Linked DNA regions of Homo sapiens: region 2 is linked to region 1. Evidence: promoter capture Hi-C in 16 types of primary human blood cells and fetal thymus (Javierre and others, 2016). All regions are on one chromosome and are shown on one strand. The core of a region is centred on a gene start or on the middle of the fragment in contact, and the rest is flanking DNA. Distances in the headings are between cores, read along the strand shown.

Region 1 (3,683 bases), core at 671-3,170:
TTCCTAGGAGCCTTGGCAATTTAACTTTATGGAGAAGGATAAGTAGGATGCTGTGTTCAATAGTTAGTAGGTCCTCATTAAATAAGTTTCCTTTCTATCCAGAAACGTACTTTAAAAGCCTCATGTTATTGTGGTTGGAGAAGTCAACTTTGATAAATTGGCCATTTACTTACTTTTTGACTTGTGTGGTGGACTTGGACTCCTTTTTCTTGATGGTAGTGATGAGGGCAAGAATGTCATCTAGACATAAAGGACCTGATTTCGCATAACTGAAAATTTAGTGCTGGAAAAATTAAGATTACCATGGCAAAATACTCTTCAAAATTACACAATTTAGTGTTTTCAAAGGCTTAAGTGGAGCTTTTATGCTGGATTTACGTGATGAATGGAATAAACTGATTCAAACATTAGAAGGGACATGCTTAAAAAAAAAACCTACCACAATTAAAATTTTGGAACATGATCTTAAATTCCTGTGAAAGGGCATGAAGAGTTTGTGTGTGTGTTTCGTTTTTTGAGACGAAGTCTTGCTCTGTCGCCCAGGCTGGAGTGCAGTGGCACAATTTCTGCTCGCTGCAACCTCTGCCTCCCAGGTTCAAGTGATTCTCCTGCCTCAGCCCCCCGAGTAGCTGGGATTACAGGCACCTGTCACCACGCCCGGCTAATTTTTGTATTTTTAGTGGAGACGGGTTTTCACCATGTTGGCCAGGCTGCTCTCAAAACTCATGACCTCGTGATCCCCCCCACCCCCCGTGCCTCGGCCTCCCAAAGTGCTGGATTTTACAGGCATGAGCCACCTTGCGGTATGTTAATTTGGGGGAAAACAACAGGGACAATTGGGGAAAAATTTTGTTTTGTGAATTACCAATGGAAGAACTAATCACAGGCTAAGCAACATGCTTACGGTTGAATTTGCCAAATTTAAGATGTACATACTATGATGTAGCATGTGTATTTATTTGCACATGCAGTGGGACAATTCCTACAGTTGTCTCACACTGCTGTAGATTATTAGCAACTCCATCCTGCAGTGACATCGCTTTTCTGAATTCTATAGCACTTTTCACCTAATCCTCTGATTAGTCTGTATTTTCCGGTTCAAGTGTATCTTGTTTTTCGTTTGCTCCACTTCCCTTGTCCCTTGCACCCCACTAACAGGAAAATTCCTGGTGGTCAAAATGGCTCTAATTCTTTTTGTATACCCGGGCTTAATTCAATAGGAATTGGGATAACTTTTCAATATTTAAAAAATTTGCACTGTGAAAACGTATATTTTAAACTCTTTCTACAACTTTTCATATTTGAAGAACATATGGCAGGAAGTGGATGCTTTTGATGAAGCCAAAAGAATTTTTTTAACTTCTATTGCTAATTAACAAGGAGGTGGCCGCGGGAGCTCTTTTTTTTTTTTTTTTTTTGAGACGGAGTTTCACTCTTGTTGCCCAGGCTGGAGTGCAGTGGCGCGATCTCAGCTCACCGCAACCTCCGCCTCCCGAGTTCAAGCGATTCTCCTGCCTCAGACTCCCGAGTAGCTGGGATTACAGGCATGCACCACCAGGCCCCGCTAATTTTGTACTTATAGTAGAGACGGGGTTTCTCAGGCTGGTTCGAACTTCCGACCTCATGTGATCCACCCGCCTCCGCCACCCAAAGTGCTGGGATTACAGGCGTGAGCCACCGCGCCCGGGCCAGGCGGGAGCTTTAGGTCTTATTTTATCTTGCTCTGCCCCCGACATCGTGGTGAGAGGGGAACCTTCCTCATATCTGGGCGCTGGCCTCTCCGGGCTTGGGAGAGAGGAACTCAGTGATCATAGAGCTGGCCGAATGCCGGGGTAGAGGGGACCGGAAGTTGTTTTTTTCGCCCCCGCCCAGCGGCCGGATCGCATCTCAGCTGGTTGGCTTTGGTTAGAGCTCCCGTCAGACTTTAGTTCGGCCCTAGGATTTGGTAGCCCCGAAGTGTGGGCTCTCTCCAGTACCAGACTCATTTCAGTACCAGCCTTTGGGAAGTCGTGTGAATACCTCGGTCTCTTAGCCACAGGGATAGAATGGCGGCCTGACGGAGCCGCGGCGCCGGCGAAGTCGCTGAGGCGCGAGCTGGAACCCCCAGACCAGCTCAAACGGGAGCCAAAACTCGAAGCTTGGAAGAATTAGCAGGAAATGGCGGATGAGGCGTTGTTTTTGCTTCTCCATAACGAGATGGTGTCTGGAGTGTACAAGTCCGCGGAGCAGGGGGAGGTGGTGAGTGCTGCCACACAACCTTGAGGTCCTTTTGCGGTGACACACCTTGTTTCCCCTCAGTGCTTTCCTTCAACCCCTGTCCCATCGCCACCCGACGCCTCCCGAGGTGTACACAAAATGGTCCACCTCCAGGTGTCCTAAACCCTAGAACCTGTCAGTTGTCTCCTTTGAACCGTCATCTTTCATCGTTTTCTCTTTCGTATCTTCTTCTATTTGATTCTCTTTTGTCTATTCCCGTACGTTTGTCTTGCACGCCACAGATTTTGGTACTTTTAGTGTTGTCCCTGCCATTATTTACGAGAGGGTTAACTGCAGAGCCTACTTAGTTTTGCTGGCACTTCCAGCACTTGAGCCATGCACTGGACAGACCTGTGCCAACCTGAGAAGCCTGTCCCTCCTTCCTCATTCCTAATGCTCAGTACAACTCCACACAACTTGAGACCTGAAGCCTAATGAAGGTTGAGTTTGCAAAGGAAAGTTTGCAGGCGTTAGGATAATTAGGGAACATAATTTAAATTAATTATTTCAGAAAGTATTTATTTAGTGCCCTTATGTCAGAGCGATTTCTAGGTGCCAGGGATATAGTAGTGAATGAAACAATGGCCCCATCCTTGTAGAGATTTTTTTTTAATCTAATTTAATCCGAAATGTGATAGTATGTAGCGGTTACTTCTAATATGTGGGAGTCCTTATTCAATCATTGTGGGCCTGTCACTGCTGACACTGCTAGATAAATTAAATAAAATAATACTCCTGCCTCACAGTATTTAGGGAATAGTGATTTAATGAATAGTTAACACTGAGTATTGGCTGGTAGAATCATGGAGTTGTAACGGATTTTAGAAATACTCCAAAGTCATGCTCAAGTCAGGAGCCCTTTCTTTAATGCTATTGATAAAAAATGAGTGGAGAGTGGGGATAGGAAATGTATCCTAGGCAAAGATAAAGTGGTAGAGGTATGAAAGAGTGGTGGATTTAAATACACTTAAGCATTTCTTTGGACTAGACTGAATAGAGAGTGAGAAGAATTGAGAGGTGAAGTTAGAAAGCTTTGTGTAATTAAAGAATTCGGATCTTTTCGAGGGAATATTTTTAAGGAAGGGAATGATGTGGACCATTTGCATTTTAGAAAAGTAATCCAGTGTTTGGGCTAGAGAGGGAAGATCCTTGTAGGGGGAAAATCCTTTATTACGGGAGTCACTGCAGGAGGAGATGAAGATCTGGATTAAGACAGGGATAGTGAGAAAAGGAGATAACAGATTTGAAAGTTAGAAAGTGGAATTCTGTAGGCCTTGTTTAAGGATGGGAGTGGGAGTTGAAAATTATCGTCAGGTTTTCAGCTTGAGCAGCTGGGTTGGATGGTGGTACTATTAATCAGAAAAGGAAATAAAGGAGAAGAAAAAAATAAGGAGGTAAGATAATGAGTTATTTCGGGGCAGGTTGAA
Region 2 (3,683 bases), core at 631-3,130, about 10 Mb before region 1:
TTTGTCTTTTTTTCTCTCCTAAATGAATTCACTTCTTTAGGCCCAAAGGCTTATATATCAGAGTACTAAAAATATTAATGGAATTGATCTCAGAACCACTGTAATGTTTTAAATATTGTGGAGACCAACTAGAAGAGGCCTAAGAAAGTGTGGACAAATGTTAGATTAGCTTTTGAGAGGCAAATGGCTTTTGGAAACCACACATTAGTGACTGATATAAATTATAGGAAAGTTGTAAAAGCTTGACATTGGATCTTGCCCAATGAGGCTTTAAAATAAAATACCTTTTCATTCCTATCACTAGGCCTTTTGTCCATCTTCTATTCTAGTTACACAAAGTTGTTCACCTTACCTTGGCTCAAGCGCTTCCTTTCACCAGGCATTCCCTTCTGTCAAGTGCTGCCTGTAGAAATCCCATTCTTCAAGGTCTACCTCAAAGGTCTCTCAAATGTACCTCGAACTGGAATTAATTTCTCTTCTTGGCTCCTTTCGTACTTCATGAGCACACCCATGATTTAATACAGAATATTTTCCTTAGCTGTACATATGTTGTTGGTGCACAAACGTTGTATGTTGAAGTCTTGGAGATAATCCTGTTTCCCACAGATTAGAAAATTTTGAGGGCAAGGAGCAAGTTATATCTAGTTTACAAATCTCTGACTCCCCTCCTTCCTTAATCATATAATACAATGCCTAACTTAATGATTGGGTAGGGGGACCCCACTAGAACCCTGACATAACATACCTTAAAGAAGTGTTGTATTTCAATTTATAAAAGTTTATATGTAAAAGTTTCTGGAATTGTTGCACCCTGTGCTACATTTTATAAATCTAGTTAAAGCTTTGATTTCAGAGCAGTTTTATCTGGAGGCATTATAAATGACCATATGGAATGTAGGTATCTTTCAGCAGAAATTCGTTTATTGACATTGGTTTTTTGCATTTTTGCATTTGCTTTTCATTACTTGTTTTGTCACCAAATTATCTGGTCAAAGCAACATACACTGCACATTACTTGTTTATTACTTTACATTCAGCCAATTACATTTAAGAATCAAATACACTAAATGCCAAAGAATCTCATTTTTTTTTGGAATGGTGTAGGTGTATTTCTTGGAGGAGTGTGTCAAAAAAATAAATTTGAAAACGTACTCTCTTTAACAAAATAAAAGCAAACCCTACCGTTGACTCGTGATCATTACAGCTGATTTTAAGTTGTTTTGTAAATTTATTCCAGTAGGTGTCACTGGTGAGTCGAGGAAAAACTCCTTTCCCAAGTGTAACGTTTTAATTAAAAGAAAGTAAAAGGTTTAATCAATAAAAAAGACTATGAGAATATTCATCTCTTGAGAGTCCAAAATTAACGTATTTATTGTTCAAAAGAGACGGGGTCTCGCTATGTTGCCCAGGCTGGAGTGCAGTGGCTATTCACAGGCGCGATCCCACTACTGATCAGCACGGGAGTTTTGACCTGCTCCGTTTCCGACCTGGGCCGGTTCACCCCTCCTTAGGCAACCTGGTGGTCCCCCGCTCCCGGGAGGTCACCATATTGATGCCGAACTTAGTGCGGACACCCGATCGGCATAGCGCACTACAGCCCAGAACTCCTGGACTCAAGCGATCCTCCAGCCTCAGCCTCCCGAGTAGCTGGGACTACAGGCACGCGCCACCGCGCCCGGCGGTCGGATACCGGCGCAGAATAGCACTAGAAGCTGTGGTATGGTGACGTCATCAACTGGGCCAGCCCACAACGCCTCTAAGATTTCATTTTACTCACCCAGCGAAACAACCTGACCACACTGCGCACGCGTTTCCTTTGAGCACTGCATTCTGGGTAAACTGTCTCAAAAATTTGAAGAGCGCATGCGTGGGCCAGCTTCTTCCTTTTACCTCGTTGCACTGCTGAGAGCAAGATGGGTCACCAGCAGCTGTACTGGAGCCACCCGCGAAAATTCGGCCAGGGTTCTCGCTCTTGGTGAGAAATAGTTTGTGATTTTGGGGAAGCGTTGCCGTGGAGCGCTAGGCTGCTTAAAATCTCAAGTAGAGGAGGCCACGGGCGGCACGAGGGAGCACGCCGACTGGGAGTCGCTGGTGCCGCCATTACAGGCCTGTACTGTGGCTTGGGAGTCCCGGGATGCGGGTAGTAGCCGTCTGAGTGCGGAGTCTTGTAATTTCTATGACCTGCAAAACCGCTGTCTCTTTTCTTACAGTCGTGTCTGTTCAAACCGGCACGGTCTGATCCGGAAATATGGCCTCAATATGTGCCGCCAGTGTTTCCGTCAGTACGCGAAGGATATCGGTTTCATTAAGGTAGGCGTCTGCAGGCGTACTCCATGTTGTTTGGGCAGAGAAGGTTGTGGGGGTTATTTTTTCCGCGAAAGACAAACGGACAGATCTTCCCTGGAGTGGTAATTCTGAGCATTCGACCAAGAGCTTTTCCTCTTTTTTTAGTTGGTAGCTGGTGACAGTGTTGATGGTTTGGGCAATCAAATTAATAGAATGGAGAAGGTGAAGGACTTAGTCTTTCCTACTCCCTTTTTTACCTAGATAGCTTAGCCAGTTTTAGGTGCCGTGTATTGTGTTTGGTGAAATTCACTTTAGAGAAGCCACTAAAATTGTTTTACATTTGTTTCATTTATCAATCTTGTAAGTACCTATTCTCTTTTTTTTTTTTTTAGAGATAGGGTCTCCCTCTGTCGCCCAGGTTGAAGTGCAGTGGCGTTGTTACGGCTCACTGCAGCCTCGAACTCCTCCTGGTCTCAGGCGATCCTCTTGCCTTGGCGTCCCGAGTAGCTGGGACTAAAGGCTCTTGCCACCACGCGCGGCTGTACCTAGATATTTTCTAACCAAATATATGTATTAACCGCTGACCCCAAGTTTTTTTTTTTTTTTTTTTGAGTCGGAGTCGCACTCACCCAACCTGGAGTGCGATGGCGTGATCTCCGCTCAGTGCAACCTCCGCCTCCCCGGTTCAAGCGATTCTCCTGCCTCAGCCTCCTGAATAGCTGGGATTACAGGCGCCTGCCACCATGTCCGGCTAATTTTTTTATTTTTAGTAGAGACGGGGTTTTACCATGTTGGTCAGGCTGGTCTCGAACTGCTGACCTCGTGATCCGCCTGCTTCGGCCTCCCAAAGTGCTGAGATTACAGGCGTGAGCCACCGCGCCCGGCCAACCCAAAATGTTTGAAAGCGTCATACACTGGAATGAACTTAAAGTTTGGGGCCGGAAAGACATTGTTAAGATTCAGCAAACAATGGTCTGCCATTTAGTGCTTCTATCTCTTGATCATCTTAGTCAAGCTAGTGTTTATATGAAACTTTTGACTGTGAAACTTTTGGCTTCTGAAAATCTTTTAAATAGTAGTTTGGGTTTTTTTTTTTAAGGTGAAAACGAATTTATTATTGGCTCTTTGAGATAAAAATCACCAGCTTTCTGATCAATTATTTTGTATTGGATAGTACTGTTCTATAATGATGTAAATTTTTTTTTTTGTTTTGAAATTGGGTCTCCCTCTGTTTCCCAGGCTGGAGTGCAGTGGCGTGATCTCAGCTCACTAGCCTCCCCCTCCCGGATTCAAGCGATTCTCCTGTCTCAGCCTCCCTAGTACCTGGGATTACAGGCGTCTGCCACCACGCCCGGCCTATTTTTATTATTTTGTGGAGATGGGATTTCACCATGTTG

Evidence for each region. The method cuts DNA at HindIII sites, captures the fragments that hold promoters and counts their contacts. A CHiCAGO score of 5 or more calls a contact.
Region 2: a contact is called between the fragment with the promoter of RPS29 here and the fragment with the promoter of TRAPPC6B in region 1, in 1 of 17 cell types (total B cells). The highest score is 6.7, in total B cells.

The regions. Positions count from the first base shown.
Region 1 is chr14:39,168,570-39,172,252 of GRCh38, reverse strand. It overlaps TRAPPC6B (trafficking protein particle complex subunit 6B), which reads left to right and starts at 1,920. Exons shown (of 6, transcript NM_001079537.2): 1 at 1,920-2,238. The coding sequence starts at 2,158. RefSeq lists enhancers at 693-1,282, 2,064-2,113, 1,873-2,462. The HindIII fragment of the contact is 6,900 bases long and covers 1-2,139 here.
Region 2 is chr14:49,584,577-49,588,259 of GRCh38, reverse strand. It overlaps RPS29 (ribosomal protein S29), which reads left to right and starts at 1,880. Exons shown (of 3, transcript NM_001032.5): 1 at 1,880-1,975; 2 at 2,211-2,310. The coding sequence starts at 1,914. It also overlaps RN7SL1. RefSeq lists enhancers at 1,320-1,829, 1,702-2,201, 2,800-2,849. The HindIII fragment of the contact is 6,928 bases long and covers 844-3,683 here.